Regions from separate parts of the Homo sapiens genome. Here region 2 is linked to region 1. Evidence: promoter capture Hi-C in 16 types of primary human blood cells and fetal thymus (Javierre and others, 2016). All regions are on one chromosome and are shown on one strand. Each heading gives the region's core, a stretch centred on a gene start or on the middle of the fragment in contact. The rest is flanking DNA. Distances are from core to core; before and after follow the strand shown. Region 1 holds the start of PAQR8 (progestin and adipoQ receptor family member 8). Region 2 has its middle 27 kb from the start of MCM3.

Evidence for each region. The method cuts DNA at HindIII sites, captures the fragments that hold promoters and counts their contacts. A CHiCAGO score of 5 or more calls a contact.
Region 2: a contact is called between a fragment that was not itself captured here and the fragment with the promoter of PAQR8 in region 1, in 3 of 17 cell types (non-activated CD4 T cells, activated CD4 T cells and naive CD8 T cells). The highest score is 7.2, in non-activated CD4 T cells.

What each region holds. Positions count from the first base shown.
Region 1 is chr6:52,358,920-52,364,268 of GRCh38, reverse strand. PAQR8 (progestin and adipoQ receptor family member 8) reads right to left here and starts at 2,118. Exons shown (of 2, transcript NM_133367.5): 1 at 2,020-2,118. RefSeq lists silencers at 1,866-2,355, 2,529-2,714. The HindIII fragment of the contact is 8,624 bases long and covers 1-5,349 here.
Region 2 is chr6:52,309,662-52,314,572 of GRCh38, reverse strand. No RefSeq gene overlaps it. Among named protein-coding and RNA genes, the nearest start is that of MCM3, 27 kb to the right of the region's middle. RefSeq lists a silencer at 4,211-4,280. The HindIII fragment of the contact is 1,829 bases long and covers 1,540-3,368 here.

The DNA of each region.
Region 1 (5,349 bases), core at 869-3,368:
CTTGCATAATTATTAAAGATTTCCTTTTCATGAATTAAAAACAGACCCAACAAATGCTAGTTGCCAAAATAATCCTTGTTTATCCAATGAAGCTCAAATCTCAGTGTGTGTCAGAAGATGGACCTATATGCACCAGAAGGAAATCTGGTGCATACACACACCCGCAAAAAAAAAAAAAAAAAAAACATATCTTTCAATGGATATATCCACTTAATAAGATTCCTCTACTCTGGGTCTTCCAGAATTGGTTGTTACGCCAAATAACTGAAATAATTACCATACATAATTAACAATACAAGATGGGTTAATGTAAGATAGTCAACATTTAACTAATAATTGAAGGACACGCACCCAAGGACAAACAGCAGAAATAAAAAACAAAAACAAAAACAAAGCCATGCCTTGGTCCTTTGTTTTTAGATACACACTTGGATACTCATCCACTGAGGTCCTAAGCAGTCTGGCTCCCTTCCAGTTGACCTGGTCAAGGGTGCAGCAGCTCAGGGCTGGGTACACGTTGTGGATAACCTTAACAGGGCAGTCAAGGGCAGTCTACCTTCCATGCAGGCAACTCCTATTAACTTCAGTAACAGGAGTCTTCACTGACAAGCAAATACTCCCAAACTGTACAATACTCTCATGTTTAACTCGACTGGAATGCAGTGCGTTTGTGGACATTGTTTGGTGTGTGTATTTGTTGTGGATTTTCCTCGTTTTTACCCAGAAACAGCTTCTCAGAGTACTGGAACAAGTAGTACACACGTGGGTCTAAAAATCACACATACAGTGTATTGTATGAGTTATCCCTAAGGCGCGCACACACACGGGTAGGTATTACCTGTACATTTGAAATCTCACTCCATAACTAATTTTTTTAGCCCAGGCTCTTCTCATTGGGTTCCTGGACAAAATCATTTCTAACCCAGCTAAGAAATATGGAATGCAACTTAGGTCAAGACAATGAGCCTGCCAAGGCTCCTGGACTTCCCACTAGTCTGCCAGTGCCTGGAGCACCCACAGCTGCACAGGAAGCTGCTGTGCCCGGCTACCTCCAGGTCCCCGCACCGGGTCGGCAAGGTGCAGCAGCCCCCAAACCCAGGCTCCGAATATTCCCCAAGCGCGCTGAGTGCGAGGTCCCCACCCGCCTCCGTCTGGGGATGCCCGGTCTTGCTCCCTAGACTAGATTCCCTCTCGAGTTATCTACGACCCTGTTCCACCGAGGGCGCTGCGTTCTCATAGCCTAGACAGACGTTCCCAGCGTTCCAGCCCCACCAGCCACCTCCGACACCCCACCGCGGCGTTCCCATCCAGCCAAGCCCCAGCATCCGCCCATTAGCCAGCTGCCGGCGGTTCCCATCACAACTCCGCTCCTCGCGCCCACCCTCTCAGAGAAGCCCCCTCCATCTTTCCCCGGCGAAAGCACATGCCTAGACCCACCCTACTCTTTCCGGGGTTCCCCTACCTCGGGCTGCCCTTCCTCGGGCTCTCCCTACCGCCCCGGGCTTCCTCTCCTCCGCACTCCCCTCCCAGGTTCCGTTCCCCTCCGCCCTGCGGAGGGCGCCCCACAAATGCGGACAGGACGCCCCTCGTTCTGCCCTGTCGGACTCCCCCACGTCTTGGTCCTGAATCTCCCGCCCTCCGGGCTCAGCCTTCCCAACATCGCGGTCCCCACACCCCCGCCAGCTCTCCAGGCTCAGGCTCCATGACTCCCCAGCATCGCAGTCCTGGCCACCCCACTACAGCCGTTCAGAGCTCCAGGGCTCCCCAGCATCCTAACCCGTCGTCCCCCCTTCCGGGCTTGGATTCGGAGACTCAACATCGGGGCCCTAAACTCCGGCCCCTGGCCTCAGGTTCCCAACGCTGCGACTCTGGACCTCCCCTCTGAGCTCGGGGTGCGAGGACTCCCCAACGCCGCGATCCTGACGTCCCCGCCTCCCGAGCTCGGGCCCCGGGGCTCCCCGACCTCGCGGTCCCAATACCCAACTCGACCCGTTCCGCGCCTCCCGCGGCGGGACTCACCGGCAGGGGCGGCGGCCGAGCCCGTGCGCGTAGCCCAGCCCGGCCCAGCCCGCGCTCCCGCCTCGGGGTCCCGGCCACGAGCTTCCCGCGGGTGGCTGTGACCGCGGCGGGCTCGGCTCGGGGGAGCGGCCGGGAGGAGGAGACCGCCGGGGGCGGGTGACGCCCAGCTCCGCCCCTTCCCGACCCGGGGGCGGGATGCGCAGACCCGCGCGCTCCGCTGCAGCCCGCGCCGCTGCCGCCGCTGCGAGGAAGTTGACTGACGCCGCTTCCTTCCACCCAGGACGCAGACCCTCGCAGTCCCTGGTAGCTGCAAAAAATCCGGAGAGTTTGAGACAGAGACGCCTTAACCGCCCTCATATTCTTTCCAAGAATTCACCTCTCAGGGGGCCATTTCCGAAGTCCCTCGGGAAGGGCGGAAAACAATAACAAACTTCATCTGCGCTGTCAAGACTGATTTAAATCCTGGCCTTTCTCTCACCACTCTCGGGTGAACGTTCAGGGTCATGCCCATGATATAAATAATGTGATGACATACCACGGAGGCCCTTGCAGACACTTCCACACCCCTAAGATACACCCGCCCAAGACTCGCGCCTCTCCCATGACTACATCACACAGACACATCTGACACTGACCTGCAGAAGATCCCACTTCTACCCTGTGTCCTCAATCCACAGCCTTCGTGGGTCCCAGCAATAGCGACCCACACATACAATCTATTGGAGGCAGGGTGCGGGGGTGGGTTCCACCTCCCGACTTGCTCCTCACCCACAATGTTCTCGGTATTTTACCATGAGAAAAAGACAGTTAAGAAGTTGGATGATCAATTAACAAATCAAGTTGGCTTTGCTTTTAAAAAGCCTTCTTCATTATCTGGAGAAAAGAGAAGGCCTGGGAAGATGGCCTGCTTACTGTAAGATTTTGTCAGACAGGCCTAATTCTGGTCTGCTTACTGTAAGATTTTCTCAGACGGCCTAATTCTGGTCTGCTTACTGTAAGATTTTCTCAGGCCTAATTCTGGTCTGCTGGTTCCCAAAACTTCTCTTATACCACCGTGTTTCAGTGACATGTTGCACAACATCTCACATTTGTACAATGTTTCCATTTTTCAAAACATTTTAGCCGAGTGTGATGGTTCACACCTGTAATCCCAGAACTTTGGGAAGCCAAAGTGGGCAGATTGCTTAAGCCCAGGAGTTCGAGACCAGCCTGGGTAACAAGGTGAGACCCTGTCTCTGCAAAAAATACAAAAATTAGATGGGCGTGGTGGCACACGCCTGTAGTCCCAGCTACTTATTCTCAGGCAAACATCACGAAGCAAAGAAAGTAATCTTAGCAGGATTATTTCAGTTCCATAAATGAAGACATTTAGACTCTGAGCAGTTGCACGGCAGGTTTGAAGCTGAGTCAGAGCCAGGAAAGAGCCCAGGGGCCTGTCTTTAGAGCCACTGATCTCCCCAGGGAATCATAGTCCAGCACTTACTTATAGGTGGATACTAGTGGAAATGTCACAGGAGGTCTTTGGCAGCTTTGCTCCCTCCATCTCTTCTTCACCCCAAAGATGTCAGGGAACTCTCCCTTAACCTCAAAAACCCGGGCTCTCCTTTATCGTCAAAAACCTATGATAGGCCAGAGGTCACAACCGTACAAGAGGGCTTATTGAGAGGGAGTGAAAACTCCTTCCACTTTGGGCCACTCTAGAAACAAAATTACAGGTTAGCACATCTAAAAGCCTATCCACAGCCTTCATCCAACTAACGTGAGCTGTCAGCCGGGAGCTGATGAGCCTCCGAAATGCATTGCTGATTATTTTTGCAGTGTTTTTCTCCCTAACAGTTAATCCATGTGGAATGTGAAGAAGTCTTAAAAGGAGACTAACAAGGCTTCTAATTCTTTCTCAATGGTAAATGTTCCTTTCTTCTTGCCCTTTATCCAAAAGGCAGATGTGAACGTGCATGTAAAGTGTAATGGGTGTCAGGCATTGTTATCTGTGCATGAGGCAGTTCTGTTTCCAAGTGACGCTGTCCAGAGCCACTAAATAAGAATGGTGGTTCTCATCCTTCATGCCTTTTAAAACTACCTTGGTCTCAAGCTAGCTTCTTTTATTTTCTACTGTGAGGTAATGGCCTACTTCCGTTTGGGCAGTAAAAGTGATGTTTTGGTAACACTGGAAAAAGTCCTAGGGTGACCTGGCTATTTTTGAATTATAATAAAAGCCTGTTGGGTCCTTCATAAAAGACAGTTAGGATGGCCTTTGGTATATGGAAATTCACAGCCAACTTTCCTCTATGTAATAATCCCATCTGGCAACACAATTTTGACCTGAGATTTTTCCAAAACCTGGAAACAGCCAAGATCTTGGGTACTGCAGTATTTCCTCAATAAGGAGAATGCTAAACTGCGAATCCAATCAACACGTATCAGACCTAGTTCCCTTTCAGATTGCCCTTGAAAGCCACAGACACAGGCAGTATGCAAAATGATGAAAAAATAGATAAGATTAAAGAGTTATTTTTGTCCGAATCTCTAATAAAATAATTTGATCTATTTTACATTGGATACATACCACATTGACACTGTTTTTATAAACACTCTACTTTGTGTTTACATATCACTTTTCCAAGAAGCTCAAAGTATGTTTGATGACATCATATTACTCAACTTCATACACTTATATGAAGTAGGAAAGGGGTAAAAACTGGTAGTCTTATTGTAACATGGAGAAATGGAAGTGTGAAATAGTTAAAACCACTTGCCTGGAACATTCTGGTATATATACTGGTTTATACTAAAAGTAGACCTGTTTGTGAAAACTGCTACAGTGAAGAGTTATTTAAAAGCTGTACTATTTTTGTTTTCTTTTTATATCTTATGAAAGGACTGAGGACTATTAATTTCTTCACTATCTTGTCAGAGAAAAGGAGAGGCACTTTGCATAGTGGTTAAAAGTGTGGCCTTGGGAGTAAGAGCCTTCAGTAGGTAACTTAACTTTTCTTCTTCCTTTTTTTTTTTTTTTTTGGAGACAGTCTCACTCTGTCGCCCAGGCTGGAGTGCAGTGGCATGATCTCGGCTCACTGCAACCTTGGCCTCTCGGGGTTTTTTTTAAGTAATTCTTGTGCCTCAGCCTCTCAGGTATCGGGAATTACAGGCACACACCACCACGCCCAGCTAATTTTTTGTATTTTTAGTAGAGATGCCGTTTTGCCATGTTGGTCCCAAAGTGCTGGGATTACAGGCATGAGGCACCATGCCTGGCCAGTAACTTAACTTTTCTATACTTCAGAATCCTTATCTCTAACACAAAAATAATAATTGTACCCACATATCTTA
Region 2 (4,911 bases), core at 1,205-3,704, 50 kb after region 1:
AGAGTGTGTGCCCTTCCTTTTTTGTTTATTAAACAAATGCTTAATGAACACTTACTGTCTGCCAGACGATGTGATCAGCACTTGATAGACAGCAGTGAACAAAACCAACCTTTTCTCTACCCTCATTCTACCCTTAAGTGAGGCAGGATAAACTGTAAATAAATAAGCAAGCGTAAAGTAATTCCAAATGCTAAGGGCTACAAAGGCAAAACCAAAAACATTTGGAAGCTATGAAAGAATAGCAGGTAGAACCTAAATTAGATGGGTTAGCGGGTGAAGGCAGGGTGTTGTCAGGGAAAGTCTCTAAGGGAGTGGCATTTATTTTTATTTTATTTTTATTTTTTTTGAGACAGAGTCTTGCTCTGTCGCCCAGACTGGAGTGCAGTGGCAAGATCTTGGCTCACTGCAACCTCCATCTCCCGGGTTCAAGCGATTCTCCTGCCTTAGCCTCCCACGTAGCTGGGACTACAGGCACCCGCCACCAGGCCTGGCTAATTTTTTTTTTTTTTTTGTATTTTTAGTAGAGACGGGGGTTTCACCATATTGGCCAGGTTCGTCTCGAACTCTTGACCTCGTGATCCGCCCACCTCGGCCTCCCAAAGTGCTGGGATTACAGGCATGAGCCACTGTGCCCAGTGGGAGTGACATTTAAAATGAAGAATGGATAGGAGTTAGGAAGTTGAGCAAATGGTAGCAGGAAAAGTATTCCAAGGAACAGCATCTGCAAAGGTCCTGGGGTAGGAAGGAAGAAACTCAGTGAATTTGAAGAACTGAAAGAAGCGAGGGGAGGCAAAGGAAAGTGGGGAAAGATAAAGCTGCTTCTTACCAACTAGACTTTGAACTCCTTAGGCCCAGGGCCCCCATTTTATCTTTTGTGAATCACCCCTCACTCCCACCCTAAGTACTGAACACAGTACTTAACACATGGTATAGCAATATGTTAAAGGATTTGACTACCTATTTAGTAGCATGATGCTACTAAATCATCAAGAATGATGTAAGAAATTAGAACAAAGCATAGAGTAAAACAATCAAGCAGAGCAGTTTTAAGACTCCAGTAGGTCCCAGGCATTTCTAATCTCAGAGGCTCTGCTACCCCCACATAGTACAAAATATATTGAACCCACATTTTACATCAAACACCACGTATATCACCACATAATTAGAGTAGAATTGAGTTGCAGTTAATTAATTTTCATCATGTTAAATTTATGGACATTTAAAGATACATATATTAATTTTGATTTTGCAAACTTTTTTTTTTAATGTCATTCTCCCCTCATCCCTGAAAGTCTCAGACATTTTTGTGGACCTAGAAAGAACTGTAGGTCCAGGAATACTCATTCTATTTTGTAGAATGAGATGTTGCCTGATTCCAGATTTGCCAATAAGAGCCAATTAAAAATAGAAGAAATGTAGGTCCTGAGCACTTTGCCTAATGGATACAAGGCCCAGCAATCAAGGGCTAAACTGGAAGGAATAAACAACAAATGCTAGAGCAATTCGGGGAGAGGAGGTATCAGTAAGGGCAGGAAAGCTTACGCGTCATATCTGTTAACCTGTTGATTTGCCTGGCCAAGAACTGCAGCTCCTAGGAAGCAGAGGAAGTAAGGGGACACTGTAGTCTGGGCATAACTTGGACCCCAAAGTTTCTCCAAGCAGAAACTAATGGGGTCAACTTGAAGGACTAGAAGCCTAGGTAAAAGTATCCATGCCTTCTTTCTTTTTTTCACTATGCCCCAGAACTGAGCAGACCTGTATCTTTTCAAAGTTTGGAGTACACAAGAATGGACACTGTCAGATGTTATGAAGGCAAATGTCAAACCATTCAGGGAAAAATCACAGATCTGATTACATGGCCTGAGACACTAAACAGGAGGATGTCTCCAGAGAATAAGAGAACTGTCAAAAACTGAACACTGAGGATACAATGAACAATGGGGAAGGCAGGAAATTGAGAGCTGGAGAGACCCATCAAGCTGAAATGCAAACTCATTAGTCAGCTCAGATTTGAAAAATGCCGCATTGAGAAAAGAGAATGTAGATGCAATGAAGGTGGCTTAGTCTGCTCAGGCTGTCATAACAAAATGCCATAGACTTTTCGATGGCTTAAGGCACAGAAATTTATTTCTTACAGTTCGGTAGGCTGGGAAGTCCAAGATCAAGGTGCTGGCAAGGCAGGTCTCATCCTGAGGCCTCTTCTCTTGGCTTGTAGGAGGCTGCCATTACTGTTTACTCACATGACCTCCTGTTTGTGTGCTGGGGCTATGGTGGAGTGAGCTCTCTGGTGCCTCTTCTTATGAGGGCACTGACTTCAGTGTGACAGTCCCGCTGTCAGACTTCATCTAATCCTAAGTACCTCCCAAAGGCCCCATCTCCATAGACCATCACATTGGGGATTAAAGTTCATTGCAACATATGAATTTTCAGTGGACACTATTTAGTGCATAGCAGAAGGATACACCTAAAAGACGGACACCTAAAAGAGGGACTTTCAGGACAGCTGACAAAATGGATAAAGCCAAGAATGAGCTGTTTGAGAAAAATAAGAATTTTTTTTTTAAAGGCCATGTAATATTGCAGAAAAGAGTAGGAGCATTGGTTACAGACAGACCTGGGCTGAATCCTGTTTATTAACTGTGTAGCCTTCGATAAGTTACTTAATATCTCTGAGCCTCAGTTTCCATAGCTGTAAAAGGAACATTAAAAACGTATCACAGGGTTGTTGTAAGGATTAATGAGATAAAGGGTTTAAAGTACTGGCACAGAGAAAAGGCCTTCTAAAGGTTTTGATGGGGGATGGAAGGTACAGGCATGTTGTTGAGGAGCGAATGGGATGGTGATAGGTGACAGGGAGAAGCTGGTTCATGCTGAAATGTGCTGGCTCATGAGTACCACTCTCGCTGAGCAGGAGGTAGGACTGGGTGACTTCTCTAGTGCTCTCCAACTCTGAAATCCCATTAATCCCCATATCTATGAGGAAGCAGATCTGTTCATCTCACCTGCTTTGTTGTTACTATCCATTCGTGCTCTGCATTTTTACAAATATTATCTTATTCAATCTTCACTACAACCTGAAACCTAATAGTAATAATAATAGCGATTATTATTCCCATCTTACAGATTAGCAAACTGAAGTTCAAAGAATTGGATAACCTAGCCCAAGATCAGACCTTTGGAGAATGAAAGAATCTGGATTTGCACCCGGAACTTACTGGCTTCCACCTCTAAACACCAGCTTCCCTGTTCCAACTTTTCTAAAGTTGAATGTTCTTCATACAAATATCAGCAGGAAGACATTGAGGCACAAAATAAATGGGGTATTGTATGAGAATGCCTAGCTTTCAATGAGCTTATGTCTCCAAGCTTGGACAAATTCCGGCTGGGGTACCAACAGAATTTATATATGAGAAGACTGTTGGCAGCTTTTCAGGGACTGTGGGGCCGGGGAGAGACGCCAGAAGACTGTGGCTGGGTACACACTATTCCATTTTGTGAAAAGGGGAAGAAGGTTGATTCTGCAAACCATAGATGCCAGAGTCCTGGGCAAAGTTCTTGAAGGGCATCCTATAAACATAAAAAAAGGGAAGTCATTGCTAGGCACCAACAAGTTTTCATTGAGAAGAGATTATTCCAAATGAACCTAACTTCCATTTCTCATAAGGTGAAAAATTGGTATGGCTTTATTTAGACAATACATTTTGCTCATTTTCATGAACCAGTTGAAAAATCTATTTTGTAAAAAAATTAATAAAAAATAATAAGACTGTTTCTATGAGAAATATAATTTTTTGGTTATTCATTTTAAAAATTTGATGTAATTACAGATTTACACATGCTTATAAGAAATAGTACAGAGGCCAGACACAGTGGCTTATGCCTGTAATCCCAGCACTTTGGGAGGCCGAGGTGGGAAGATCACAAGGTCAGGAGATCGAGACCAACCTGGCCAACATGATGAAACCCCGTCTCTACTAAATATAGAAAAATTAGCTGAGTGTGGTGGCATGCACCTGTAATCCCAGCTACCCAGGAGGCTGAGGCAGGAGAATCGCTTGAACCTGGGAGGCAGAAATTACAGTGAGTCAAGATCATTGTGCCATTGCACTCTAGCCTGGCAACAGAGCAAGACTTCGTCTCAAAAAAAAAAAAAAAAAAAGAAGTAATACAGCGAGCTCCCCTGTACACTTAGCTCAGTGTCCCTAGTGGTTACATTTTGTAAAACTGTAGTATGATAGTACCATCAGGATATTGGCATTGACACACTCACTGATGTTGTTCCAATTTCCCCAGTTTTACTTGTATTCGTGTGTGTGTGTGTATGTATTAAGTTTTATACAATTGTATCACTTATGTAGTGTTACCTATCCACTATTACAGTCAAGGTACTAAACAGCTCCAACTGAATAATCTTTCTTAATGGGGGAGATAGAACTTTAAACCTTGAAGGACAAAAGAGAGAAATAGTATTTTAGGTCAGAGAAGAGCAAAAAGAAAATCAGAGGCAGGGATGAATGTTGGATATTGGGGAGAGGGTCTCGGCTCTATTAAAGGAAAGGATTGCTACATTATAGACATAGTCATTGGGTCAGTTAGGTAAGATGCATAACCCCATTATAAATGGCCTTGACCATCATGGACCATGCTACTTAGATATAAAAACAGTAGGCCGGACGCGGTGGCTCATGCCTGTAATACCAGCACTTTGGGAGGCTGAAGCGGGTGGATCATGAGGTCAGGACATCAAGACCATCCTCGCTAACACGGTGAAACCCCGTCTCTACTAAAAATACAAAAAATTAGCTGGGCGTGGTGGCATGCGCCTGTAGTCCCAGCTACTTGGGAAGCTGAGGCAGGAGAATCGCTTGAACCCAGGAGGTGTAGGTTACAATGAGCCGAGACCGTGCCACT